Linked DNA regions of Homo sapiens: all the other regions are linked to region 3. Evidence: promoter capture Hi-C in human tissues and cell types (Jung and others, 2019). All regions are on one chromosome and are shown on one strand. The core of a region is centred on a gene start or on the middle of the fragment in contact, and the rest is flanking DNA. Distances in the headings are between cores, read along the strand shown.

Region 1 (4,492 bases), core at 1,688-4,187, 330 kb before region 3:
CCCACTTCATTTATCAGTTGGCCAATGAGGCATGGCGAGTCAGGCATTGGGCCAGGCTCTGGGTAAAGCAATGGTGGAGACTCAATGCTTGCATTGGAGGAGCTGTCAGTCATTTACCAGACACAGACTGGGTCCTAGAGAGCTGAAATTACTAGCTCAAGTCACTGCTGTTTAGTGCCAGAGCCAGCCCCAGGGTTCCCTGCCCCCACACCCAGCCTAAGTCTATCCCTATACCACAGGCCTGAACAACTCCCCCACAATACAGTGCCTCACTTTTCTTTAAGACCTTTTGCTTTGCCAACCTTAACCTTAAGAATCCACCTCCCCATCCCCTGCCAAAGACTGGGGTGAAGAAACGCACCTGGCTACAGTTACCTTTCTCATTCCCATTGCTTGGGCCCAACTTCGGGGGAGAAGCTTCAGAGATGTATTTGCTAAATTCAAGGATTCCCCACTTTTTGCTTTTACTTCCACTCACTGATAGTTTCAGCTTGACGTCAAGCCTCTTTGAAAAAGAGGCTTTTTTTTTTAAGTGAAAGAAACTTTATTTTGAGTAATATACAAAAAAAAAAAAAGAGAGAGAGAGAGAAAGAAAAAGAAGCTGAAAATGAGATTACTCATGATTTTTAAAATGGCCTCACTGATTTTTAAAAAATGTTCTTCCTCTTTCAGGACTGTTTGTGGCCACATTTGCACATAGGCACACCAGCCAAAACTCATAGATCTTGTGAATTCAGAGTAGCCTGAAACATCATCCCTTATAAATTTCAAATAGGCATTTTGTTCATGTCACTGAGCTATGTGTATTTTAAGAACCTGCTTTACTTAAGATGAGGATGGCATGAAATGAAAACAAAACAGAAACCCAAGGGCTTATGGGACTTTTCTCTGAGGGTGGGGCTCTGGTGTTGGAGGTCTGGTGGGGGAGGGGGACTTGATCCCATGCCCCAGAGCCCCTGAAACAGTTTGGGTTTCAATGTGTCTTTCAGCAAAATGATGCTTCAACACCCAGGCCAGGTCTCTGCCTCGGAAGTGAGTGCTTCTGCCATCGTCCCCTGCCTGTCCCCTCCTGGGTCACTGGTGTTTGAGGATTTTGCTAACCTGACGCCCTTTGTCAAGGAAGAGCTGAGGTTTGCCATCCAGAACAAGCACCTCTGCCACCGGATGTCCTCTGCGCTGGAATCAGTCACTGTCAGCGACAGACCCCTCGGGGTGTCCATCACAAAAGCCGAGGTGGGTTCTATCACAGGTATTCATTCTTTCGGCACATGTTTCGCTCGCAGCCACTGTGTGTTGGGCATGTTCTAGGCAGGGGGCTGTTGTTGAGAGTGAAACAAACAAAACCACTGCCCTCAGGGAGCTTACCTTCTCCTGGGAGGAGACAGAAGTACATAACATACGTAAGTACACGTTAAGAGATGAGTGCAAAGGAGAAAAAAGCAGGGAGCGGGGCAGAGAGAACGGGTAGGGATGGGGTTGCTGGGTTTAAAAACTTTTCAGGCCAGGCATGGTGGCCCACGCTTATAATCCCAGCACTTTGAGAGGCCAAGATGGGATTATCGCTTGAGTCCAGGAGTTTGAGACCAGCCTGGGCAACACAATGAAACCCAATCTCTATGACAGTATTAGCTGGGCAAGGTGGTACATGGCCTATAGTCTCATCTACTTGCGAGGCTGAGGTGGGAGGACCGCTTGAGCCCAGGAGGTTGAGGCTGCAATGAGCCGTGATCACCTCACTGCACTCCAGCCTGGGTGATGGAGCAAGACTCATTTTGCTTTTAGAGACAGTGTTGCTCCATCACCCAGGCTGGGGTGCAGTGGGGTGATCACGGCTCATTGTAGCCTCAGTCTCCTGGGCTCAAGCGATCCTCCTGCTTCAGCCTCCCAAAACACTGGGATCACAGGGATGAGCCATTGCACCCAGCCGGGGTTGCTGTTTTAAATTAGGAAGTCAGGTAAGGATTCACTGATAGTGACTTTTGAGCAGAGGTCAAAAGGAAAGGAAGAAGGAAAGAGGAGAGGGAAGAAGCCACGTGGGTATCTGGTAAAAGAAATTAAGGGCACTGAGGTGGAAGTATTGGTGCCTGGTGGGCTGTGCAGTGGGGCAGAGTATAGGGGTGGGAGATAAATAGGGGCTGGTCATATTGGGTCTTACAGATTATTATTGTATAGATGCAGCCCTGGGCTCAAAGTGAGGTGGGAAACCACAGAAGGCTTTTGAGCAGAGAAGCAACAAGATTCAACACACACACACACACACAGATACACACACACACTTTTTTTTTTGAGACAGAGTCTTGTTCTGTCACCCAGACTGGAGTGCAGTGGCATGATCTTGGCTCACTGCAACCTCTGCCTCCCAGGTTCAAGGGATTCTCATGCCTCAGTCTTCCAAATAGCTGGGATTACAGGTGCCCGCCACACGTCTGGCTAATTTTTGAATTTTTTTAGTAGAGACGGGGTTTCTCCATGTTGGCCAGGCTGGTCTCGAACTCCTGACCTCAGGTAATCCGCCCGCCTCGGCCTCCCAAAGTGCTGGGATTACAGGTGTGAGCCACCACGCCCAGCCTTGATTTATATTTTTAAATGATCACCCTGGCTGTCATGTTGAGAATGGGCAGTAGGGGTAAGACAGAAGCTGAGTGCACAGAAAGGAGGCCGTGGCAGGAATCCACGTGAGTCAGGGGGCCTGCAGCAGGAGGGAGCAGTGCAGGTGCTGAGAAGTGGTTGGCTTTGGATCTGACTTGAAGGTAAAGCTGATTTGCTGATAGATTGGATGTGGGGTGTAAGAGAAAGGGAAGACTCAAGGGTGACTGAGTTTTCTGGCCAGCATAGCTGTAAGAATGGAGCGTCCATTTGCTGCTGAGATTTGGGATTATAGGGGTTAGGGTGGTGGCAAGAGCAGGAGGTCTGTCCTATTCTGCAGACCCCTGTGGAGATGTCAAGCAGGCAGTTGGATATGTGAGTCTGGAGTTCAGAGGACAGTCTGGGCTAGAGATAATAGAGTTGGAAATTATCGGCATATAGATGGCACTTAAAGCCATGAGTCAGGATGAGGCCACCTTCTGTGTCCAGTTGTTCTGAAGAAGCTTGGAGCGTGGTGGTCCCTGTTTTTATCACTACTAGGACCCAAGCACCCAGACAGTAGAGCAAGGACCAGGCAGCCTGCCCCACCCTTCCCTGTAGCAATGTTCACAGCCTTGGGACCAGGTGTTGCTCCAGGTTCACTTCTGTCTGACACACTTGCACTGTTCCACGCTTGGCAACCTTGGGTAAGACTCCTGGAATAATAAACATGGTGAGAAGTCTGGGAGGTGGCTTCTGGCGATGCCATAGTGGCTTAAGGATGTCAGAGCTGAGGTTCCACCATTTTATTGGCCTTTTCCTCATGGTGGCAAGTGGAAGTGTTTCAGGCTTACTCAACTGGCATGATTGCAGCCTTTGGGCAAGGAGTAGTGGGACTGACCTAAAAGACTGTCCTAGTTCACCACTTGCAGGTGGCACCCCAGCATGGGCCGATTAATGCCGCTTTGGTTGGGAATGGGCTTAGGTGCCTTTTCTACAGGAGCATCATGGGCTTCTCCCAAATTTGGGAAGCTGGTGCTCTGATGCTCCAGGTGAAGTCAGAGGTGAATGGGGTTGCCCTTGGGTCTTGAATTGAAGAAGAGGCCGGGAGTGGGTGGCTAGGTAATGATCCTGAGATCATTCCTGGTTCTCAAAGAAAGGAGATGTTTACCAGACAGAATCTGTTTCGGCTTTAAATGATTATAGTTAATACCAATAGTTATCAATTTGCATATTATCCTCATCTCAAAATCCAAATGCATTTTTAAAATTGGCTAACTTTTAATTTACTAATATATTGCCGGTATAATTTTAACTTTGATTTTTGTTGTTCACTCACGTGTGTGTGTGTGCGTGTGTGTGTGTGTGTGTGTAGGGGTTTTCACACAAAAGTCTAGAGCTTTAGTATTTCGGGGTCTTTTAGCGCTAGCATTGCCCTTGTCTGCCAGCTTTTGCTGGCAGTAAAAGGCAGTGTATTTGAGGTAGGTGGCATTTCTTACTGCCCTTTAAATGTGTTTCTTTTGGATTTTACAGGTAGCCCCTGAAGAAGATGAAAGGAAAAAGAGGCGACGAGAAAGAAATAAGATTGCAGCTGCAAAGTGCCGAAACAAGAAGAAGGAGAAGACGGAGTGCCTGCAGAAAGTGAGTGCCTTCTAGCCTTACCCTTCCTCTCGCTCACGCCTGTCTTCACCAGCTTCATGTGGCTATCAGAAGAAGAGTTAGAAAACCCCCTACTTGGTTATAGTTTCCCAAGAAGGGCCTTGTAGCTGGTAGCAGAAATGCCAGTTGCAGAATGAGGAGGTGGCAAAGCAGTTAACACAATGGATGTGACGGTGGATGTATAAAAACAGGTGTGTGAATTCGTCTGATGCCTGACTCCCAGCAGCCTCGGCCGGTTCATACATGTCCATCAGCTTCCAGGCTGCAG
Region 2 (4,557 bases), core at 1,620-4,119, 280 kb before region 3:
TTAGAGTGGGCCATAGTGACCACCAAAAACCACCGCCTCTGGCTTCAATTCTGCCTCCCTCCTGTCTTCTCTCAGGTGCTGGCTTCATGCACAACCCTGCTAGCGCAGCTACCTAGTGTCCTCTCCTCCACTTCTCTGCTTTGGGGCGGGTGGTGCCCAGCTTTCAGTGGTGAGACCTGTAGCCTTTTGCTCTCTGCTAGGCCAGGGAGCCCCTTCTGAGAGGGTAAGGGGGGCCAGGGTGGAAGGGGCATGGTTCTTGTTTTGTGTCCTGGAGAGAGTGTGCTCCATATAAAGCCTGCTTGAGCAGAGGAGAAGAAGCCGGCCCCGGCACCTTAGCCTTGACCCAGGTTCGTATGGTGTGGAGCCCTTGCTTCTGCTGTGATCGGGCCCAAAAGGTTAACAAGTCAGTTTGTAGAGGTCTGTGTCTGGGAGTTCTTTGGGGTTTTTATTTGTGTCTTTCCTGACTTTTCTATCTCTGAGAGTCAAGTCTTTCTTCCACATCTCTGTCTTGCACTGCAGTTCCCCAGTGCGCAATCATTCCATGTGTGTTGACGGACTGCAGGGCACATTGGCTCTGAAGGCTTTACCAAGCTGGCTCTCAGTCATATATATATTTTTTTAATTTTTGAGACAGGGTCTCACTCTGTTGCCCAGGCTGGAGTGCAGTGGCACAATCATGGCTCATAGCAGGCTCGAACTCTGGGGTTCAAGCGATCCTCCCACCTCAGTCTTCTGAGTAGTTGGGACTACAGGTGCCTGCCACCACACCTGGCTAATTTTTATTTTATATTTTAGAGATGGGGATCTCATCATGTTGCCTGGAGCTGATCTCAAACTCCTGTGCTCAATCAATCCTCCCTCCTAGGCCTCCCAAAGCGCTGGGATTGCAGGAGTGAGCCAACAAACCTGGCCTCAATCAGGTCTTTAACCGTCCAATTTATTCAATTCTGCCAGAGGGCCCCCTGCTGAAGCTGTTCACAGATTGCTCTGATATCATTAAAAAGCTAACCACATATGCAAATGAAGTGTTGGAGGTGTGAGGGTGGCTTGGGGTAGACAGTGCTTCTGGTTCATCTAGGAAGGCTTCCTGGTGGGGGAAGGGGAGGGGCTGAAGTTGTCATTGAAAAGGATGGAGTTTGATACAATGAGGGGGGTGGTGTGGTTTTAGGCCATAACCCTCCCTTTCCTGGGGCAGGTCCTCACATGAGTCATTCCAGAGTTCCCTTGCTGGTCAGTGGGAACATTCTAGTGTGTGACATCTCCCTGGCAACAAGCTGAGTTCCTGGAAAACAACAATCACAGAGAGACAGTCCACCACCTCTACCCTCTTAACTCTTCCTTAGAAATCCTACTGTCTGCAGCTGGGAATGAATGGAATGAAGGTCAAGGATGAAGTAATAACCAAATATTGGGTTTTGGGTGCCCTGGTAACTGTCCGGTTTCCAGTTAGGGTTCCTGGGTGACATCTTCCTTCTGGGGGAAGACAGAGTCAAATGAGAAACGTGAGTTGAGCCCAGGGGAAAGGATCATCCGGGAGATGCCTGAGGGGCTCCAGGGCATCGTAATCTCTTGCTCAGCTGGCAGAGTGGGGCTGACACGGCCAGCTGCTCTCTGGAGTCCTCGGCCTTCCTGTTTCCCCCTGAGGACTTTGAGTGGGGAATCTAAACCATATGTCTCTGATTCATTTACTGTGAACTCATCAAGTTGCTGTTTGGCAAGAGTCCTTGGATGTCTCGGAAGAGCTTTTGGTTTGGTTTCATTTGTTCTTTCTAGTGCTTTTCCTTTGAAATAGGAAGTTTATGTTTGCCAAAAATAAGTTGAAAAGCTAGATTTGATATTGGATCAGAGCATAAAAAGAAATCAAGAAGATATTATCCTTTGTGTTTCCCTATTTTTAACTTCGCAATGCAGGCAAGTCATAGCTGACATTTAATTCTGCGAATTGGGTGCTATCATTATCCCCATTTTACAAATGAGAAAACTAAAGCCTAGAGTGGTTAAGTAAATTGCCCAAGTCCACATAGCTAGTAAAGTGGCAGCTTTATATACGTGCACAGTAGCATCACCAAGGGCCTATCTTGCTTTTAGGGGCCTATGTAAATATTTTAATTTCTTTTAAAATCAGAAAAAATGAACTTGATGTTGAAAGAGAATTTAATGTATTTGTCTTTCTACCAACACAGTCATATAAAGTTTAACCCTTTCAGAAGCAGCACCATCTTGAGTACCAGGGAGAATGAGAGAGAGAATGGAAGGAGCAGTGGTTGGGTGTCCACTGTGCTCGGCGGGGCTGACCACTGTGTGAAAGTGGCCCAGATGCCACGTCAGCCCCCTCACTGAGGGGACTAAGCCCACACCCTAAGATAGAGAAGACTGTATTTAATAAAGTGCCACTGGGCTTTGACTAGGTAGATCACACGAGGCTTCACGAAGGAGCTGGGATTTGAGAAGAGGGTTAAACATGAAAGGATGGGAAAGTAGAGACAATTTGAGGAATGGAGAATTCCCTGTATGGGGGGAGACTGGGGGTAGCTGATGTAGAGGTTGTGTTAATTATTAGTTAAAACTCGGTTTCTAAACTACTTTTGAATTGTATTTTGTTTGTATTTCACTTTGAAGATCTGCATCTAGCTGTTATTTGTTTTCATTCTGTCAGTGATAATTAAAGCTCAATTGTTACTTAAACTCACAAATGATTATCTTCTGTAATAGAAAGGTAAACAGGACTTTTGTTTTTGTTCATTTTGTTATTTCCTGTTAGAGGTTAACTAATATTCATTCTTTAGCAGTTTATGTCTATATAGCAGACATAGATGTAGCAGGTATAGATATTGCTGTTTAGCAGCAATAATTAGGAAATTGTCCAAAAGGTCATAGGAAACCATCTCACTTCCTTATTTTTGCACCAAAATGACATACCAAACATTGCAGTGTGATTTCCATGGAAAGGACTCATGGTTTACAAACAGTGCCCCTCAGAGACAGGACTTGGTAAAGACACCTTGGGGGACAAGGGGGTAGGCAAGGCGGGCAGGGAGTGGCCGGGGGGTAAGCAGCAAGTGGGTGCTGAGGTCCTTTTCCCTGCTTTAACCTGATCAGGCTGTTTACATATGGTAGGGTTTCTAGAAAAGATTTCATTTTTTAAAAGGGGGATCCTCTGAAAAAAATGAATTTGAAAACCACTGCTATAAAAACTTTAAGAAAGTTAAAATCTCTAGGAACTAGGTGGTTTATTTCTTTATTCTCTGCCTATTCCAGGAATAACCTAAGATGGCTTATCAAATATTAATACATATCATTCAGCAAGTTTTGTTAAGCAAAGCAGAAATGGAAAGAAGGAAAAATAATGATAGAGACGTCAGACATCCCCAGGGCAAGGTTCATGCACCAATGTACCCGAGGAGGAGCAGGCCAGCAGGGCTGGGCGGCACAGGCTGCAGCTGGCAGGCCTGGTTCACAGAAGGGTCATGCAGACGCAAGCCATCCTCCCTCTGCAGGATGAGGCGATGGTGGCCTGGGCAGAGCCCTGAGATCCTGTGGAAGCTCCTAGGATATTAGTGAGAGTCCTTGGGAGGTTTGTTTGACTTTGCACAAGCGCGTCGTTCTCCATCCCAGCCACCATCTTTGTCCTTTCCTTCCTTAAAGACGCATAAACCATGGCAAGTGGAGGTCTCTGCCTGCCCACCCGGCTGTCCTCAGTCCTCTGGCCACACACCCTTCACACCCTAGTCACCCCCCAATCAAAAATGATCAAAAGCCAAATTTGATCATTTGTCTTGGGTTTACTCTGGGCCAGGTACAATTCCAAGTACTTCATACATTCAGTCCTCCATGTCTGTGGGTTCAACCAACAGTGGATAGAAAATATTTTTAAAAAACCAAACATCTGTACTGAATATCTACATTTTTTTCTTGTCATTATTCCCTAAACAATAAAGTATAACAACTATTTACATAGCATTTACATTGTATTAGGAATTATAAGTAATCCGGAGTTGATTTAAAGTATACAGGAGGATGTGCATAAGTCAATGTAAATACTAAGCCATTTTATGTCAGGGACTTGAGCGTCTTTGGATTTTGATGTCCATGAAGACTGCTAGGTAAATTACTGTGTGGTTTCTCCCTGAGTCATCAGCGCAGGGATGAGGTTGGAGGAGCGAGGTTTTCCTGCCAGTATTTGGGTTCTCTTTACCCGAAGAAACCAATCCCCGGAAGATACTGAGAGACAACTGTATGTGTTAACACTTTTGATTCACACAACATCCCTATGAGGTGGGTAATATTATCATCCCCATTTAACAGATCAAGAAACCGAGGCACAAAGAGGTTAAACAACTTGCTCAAAGTCATACATCTGGTGACAGAGCCGAGATTTGAAAGCAGTTTGGTTCTGCGCTCTTTCTACTCTACCGTGGAGCCCCAATTTCCCAACTCATTACAACCTGCTGGTTGCAGAGTGGGACGTTATGCTGTCCCTGAGGCTGAAGTCCCAGGTTTTACCCTCAAGTGAGCTACTCAGTCACACCTTGGCCTGTCCTGTTTGGGGGCCACAGA
Region 3 (4,278 bases), core at 1,577-4,076:
CACTCATCCTCCCCTTCCCGGCCCACCACTGAGTTCCCAAAGTCCATTATATCATTCTTTACATCCTCATAGCTTAGCTCCCACTTATAAATAAAAATATATGATTTTTGGATTTCCATTCCTGAGTTACTTCACTTAGAATAATGGCCTCTAGCTTCATCCAAGTTGCTGCAAAAGACATTATTTCATTCCTTTTTATGACTGAGTAGTATTCCATGGTGTATATATACCACATTTTCTTTCTTTCTTTTTTTTTTTTTTTTGAGACAGAGTCTTGCTCTGTTGCCCAGGCTGGAGTGCAGTGGCGCCATCTCAGCTCACTGCAAGCTCCGCCTCCCAGGTTCACGCCATTCTCCTGCCTCAGCCTCCCGAGTGGCTGGGACTACAGGCGCCCACCACCATGCCCGGCTAATTTTGTGTATTTTTAGTAGAGACGGGGTTTCATCATGTTAGTCAGGATGGTCTCGGATCTCCTGACCTCGCGATCCGCCTGCCTGGGCCTCCCAAAGTGCTGGGATTACAGACATGAGCCACCACGCCCGGCCTATATACTACATTTTCTTTATCCACTCATTAGTTAATGGGCGCTTAGGTTGGTCCCATATTTTTGCAATTGCAAATTGTGCTGCTATAAACATGCATGTGCACGTGTCTTTTTCATATAATGACTTCTTTTCCTTTGGGTGGATACCCTGCCATGGGAATGATGCATCGAATGGTAGCTTTAGCTCTACTTCTAGTTCCTTAAGGAATCTTGCTGTTTTCTATAGTGGTTGTACTAGTTTACATTCTCACCAGCAGTTTTATGCATGTTCCCTTTTTGCCACATCCACATCAAAATCTATTATTTTTTGACTTTTATGACAATTCTCGCAAGAGTAAGATGGTATCTTATGGTGGTTTAATTTGTATGTCTCTGATAATTAGTGATGTTGAACATTTTTTCATATGTTTGTTGACTGTATATCCTCTTTTGAAAATTGTCTATTCATGTCCTTTGCCAATTTTTTGATGGGATTGGTTTTATCTGGCTGATCTGTTTGGGTTCCTTGTAGATTCTGGATACTGGTCCTTTGTCAGATGCACAGTTTGTGAATATTTGCTCGCACTCTGTGGATTGTCGGTTTACTCCGCTGATTATTTCTTTTGCTGTGCAGACCCTTTTTAGTTTAATTAGGTCTCATTTATTTATTTTCATTTTTGTTACATTTGCTTTTGAGGTCTTAGTCATGATTTCTTTGCCTGAGCTAATGTCTAGAAGTGTTTTTCTCATGTTATCTTCTAGAATTTTTATGGTTTCAGGTCTTAGACTTAAGTCTTTGATCCATCTGGAGTTGATTTTTGTGTAAGGTGAGAGACGAGGATCCAGTTTCATTCTACATGTCCACTTCAGCCTTTTGAGTAGCTGGGACTACAGGTGTGTGCCACCACATCTGGCTAATTTCAAAATATTTATTTAGTAGAGACAAGGTCTCGCTATGTTGGTCCAGTCTCTAATTCCTGGCCTCAAGTAATCCTTCCTCCTCTTTCTCCCAAAGTGCTGGGTTTAAAGGTGTGAGGCACCACGTCTGCCCTATTCTCATTATTGAATCTATAAAGTTCTTGGCATGGGCTCTGTCTCAGGGAGCAGTGCAGGGCTAAGTCCAGAATCCAGGTCTCCTCACCCAAGCCCTGGCTCTCAACTACCCCTCAGGGGTCTCTGCCCTCCTGTGGAAGAGAAGTTCCAGTTCCATGACAGGCAACTTGTCAGGATAAGCATCCAGAAACTGACCCGCCATCAGTGGCACTTTGACAACTGTCTTCTTAATTCAAGGTTCACTTAGCATAGGTCTCATAACTGCTTTGCTCAGAGCTGGCCTGCTGGCCTGCAGTTTAAAGAGAAAGGATGCTATGGCCAGGATCCTCAGTGTCACAAGAGAGGAAGTCAGGGAATCACAGAACCTTACAGCCAGAACAGACCCTGGAGAGCGGGAGGTCTGCTCTCCTTTCAGAAAGAGAAGCTAAGGCCCAGAGCAGGGAAGTGGCTTGTCCAGGGTCACACAGCTGAGCAAAGTGACAAACCTGGACCAGGAGCCAGCCTTCAGGTCAGCAGTCTGGTGCTCTTCCCACCTCAACCTGCTCTCCTCTTTCTTAAAGAAAAAGAAAGAGAAGGTGTTTCAGTAGTGAGTGTGGGATAGCCACCCACTTCACCATGGTTTGGAAGCATCTCTCCATCCCTCCTCTCACTCAACAGCTGTGGCAGAACAGTCAGGGCCTGCCTGACCTCTTGAGTTTTATTGTCTCCTCTCAACTTGGGCTTAAAGGGACTTTATTAACCATGACTAATACCAGAGGATCCAAAGCTGCACCCACTTGTTAATTTTGAGGAATTTTTAAATGCGGGATTTAAAAAAGATTTAATTTCACGCATAGGTATGAACAGCCCCTCATCATCCCAGGTAGAGGATGAACAACTCATCATCCCGGGTAGAGGCAGGTAAGTGTGTCCAGCGTCCCTCAGGGAATGCTCTTCTGATGCCAAACCCTCTGCTTCCGCGGGGTCACTTCTCGGGTGGTTTTGTTTCTCCTCTGCTTCCACAGTTGCAAACCCTCGAAGTGCCACGACCCCTGGGGAAACTCGATCTTAAGTCCCATGGCCAAACGCTCCAGCCCGCGGGGCTCTCAGGACACCACAGCGATCGGATTTCGCGTGGCCGCCAGGCTCCCCCTACTCCTGTCCCCTCCCGCCAGAGAACCCCTGGAGCCAATCAGAGCGTCGCGGAGCCCGGGGTTGTAGAGTCCCGAGCCCGGGACCCGCCCCTCTTTGTTGCGGTGGCCAATAGACGCATTCGGAACATCGGCGGCTGCCCGGGTGACTTGGTTATATGTCACAGAATAACATTCGAGAATGGGACATGGAATGAGGCGACGGCCCCAGCAAGCCCCAGCAGCCCCAGCCCCAGCCCCAGGCCCAGCAGCAGCAGCAGCAGCCCCTGCTCTCCCGCCGCCCGGAGAGGCTCTGCAGCCATGAAGCCAACCGTCCCGAGGTAGGATCTTGGAGCTGCCGCGCGCCCTTCCTGCGCGCCGCCCGCCTGCAGCCAGTCCCTCCCGGTGATAGGCGCTGGAACTCGGGGAAAAGGGGGCGGATGGAGCTCTTTCCACTAGATCCCCGCCGGGGTCCGGGAGGGCTTCCTGGAAGAAAGCGGGCCGCCTTGCAAGCCAAGGCTGCTGCAGCGCCCTCGCGCCAGCTCTGGGCGCTCACATGCCAGCACGTTCGTGGCTCCCCTCCTCTCTTGGCCACATCTGAGGACCCAGGAATGTGTGGAGCCTTGCGGGAACCTCCTGTTCCTTCATGCTACACAAGCTGTCTTTCTTCTCCCCACATCTTGCGCTCCGCATCCCCCAAGCTCCTTGTGCCCCTCCATCCCCAACCCCCCGGGTTTAGGTGTGTGTGAAGCTTCGTGGCACATTTTGAGCTGCCTTTCTAGGTAATCGCAGGGCTGGAAGCCCGTCATCGATTCTCAGGGAGGCTGTCAGCGTGCAGGGGGGAGCGGGGAGTGTCGTGGAGACACTCCGGGACCCCTCACTCGGTTCCGCTGTGCGTCCACTTAGCTGTGGTGTCAGCTGTGTCTCCGCTGATTTCAGGCACCGCCGGTAAGCAGGGAGCCTCCGCGGAGCTCCCGCCGCCGCTCCCCCTTGGTGAGTCCTGCCGCAGCGAGAGGCATGGAGAAGGCCGCCCCCGCGGGGCGCTGATCCCCTCGCCGCGCCCGCGCGCACACGCCCCCCGCCGCCGCCGCCGCTGCCGCCGCCGCGCGCCCCCAGTACCTCGCTCCCCGCCCAGGCCCCACCATGACCGGCTCCGCGGCCGACACTCACCGCTGCCCCCACCCCAAAGGCGCCAAAGGCACCCGGTCCCGGAGCAGCCACGCGCGGCCCGTGAGCCTCGCCACCAGCGGGGGCTCAGAGGAGGAGGACAAAGACGGCGGGGTGCTGTTCCACGTCAACAAGAGCGGCTTCCCCATCGACAGCCACACCTGGGAGCGCATGTGGATGCACGTGGCCAAGGTGCACCCTAAGGGGGGAGAAATGGTGGGCGCCATCAGGAACGCCGCCTTCTTGGCAAAGGTCAGTGGCTTCCAGGGCGGAGTTGGGGGGCTGGGGGTAGGTAGGCAGCGATGGGACCGTTTCAGCCTATACATAGCAAACACAGGCAATCTCCATTTTCCTAGTCCTGCTACAAACTCCCTTCCTCTCCCCATTCCTTCCTGCCAGCCCTTTTCTAATTGAGATATTTAGATT

What was found. Contacts are between HindIII fragments. The study calls those that stand out against the background at their distance.
Region 1: a contact is called between a fragment that was not itself captured here and the fragment with the promoter of VASH2 in region 3, in 1 of the 25 tissues and cell types used here (lymphoblastoid cells).
Region 2: a contact is called between a fragment that was not itself captured here and the fragment with the promoter of VASH2 in region 3, in 1 of the 25 tissues and cell types used here (spleen).

What each region holds. Positions count from the first base shown.
Region 1 is chr1:212,614,029-212,618,520 of GRCh38, forward strand. ATF3 (activating transcription factor 3) reads left to right here. Exons shown (of 4, transcript NM_001674.4): 2 at 990-1,233; 3 at 4,099-4,206. The coding sequence starts at 994. Among named protein-coding and RNA genes, the nearest start is that of ATF3, 7.5 kb to the left of the region's middle. The HindIII fragment of the contact is 5,545 bases long and covers 166-4,492 here.
Region 2 is chr1:212,666,355-212,670,911 of GRCh38, forward strand. No RefSeq gene overlaps it. Among named protein-coding and RNA genes, the nearest start is that of LINC02773, 3.0 kb to the left of the region's middle. RefSeq lists a silencer at 911-1,130. The HindIII fragment of the contact is 6,400 bases long and covers 1-4,557 here.
Region 3 is chr1:212,947,715-212,951,992 of GRCh38, forward strand. It overlaps VASH2 (vasohibin 2), which reads left to right and starts at 2,827. Exons shown (of 8, transcript NM_001301056.2): 1 at 2,827-3,026; 2 at 3,625-4,104. The coding sequence starts at 3,829. RefSeq lists enhancers at 2,813-2,962, 3,483-3,532. The HindIII fragment of the contact is 12,745 bases long and covers 1-4,278 here.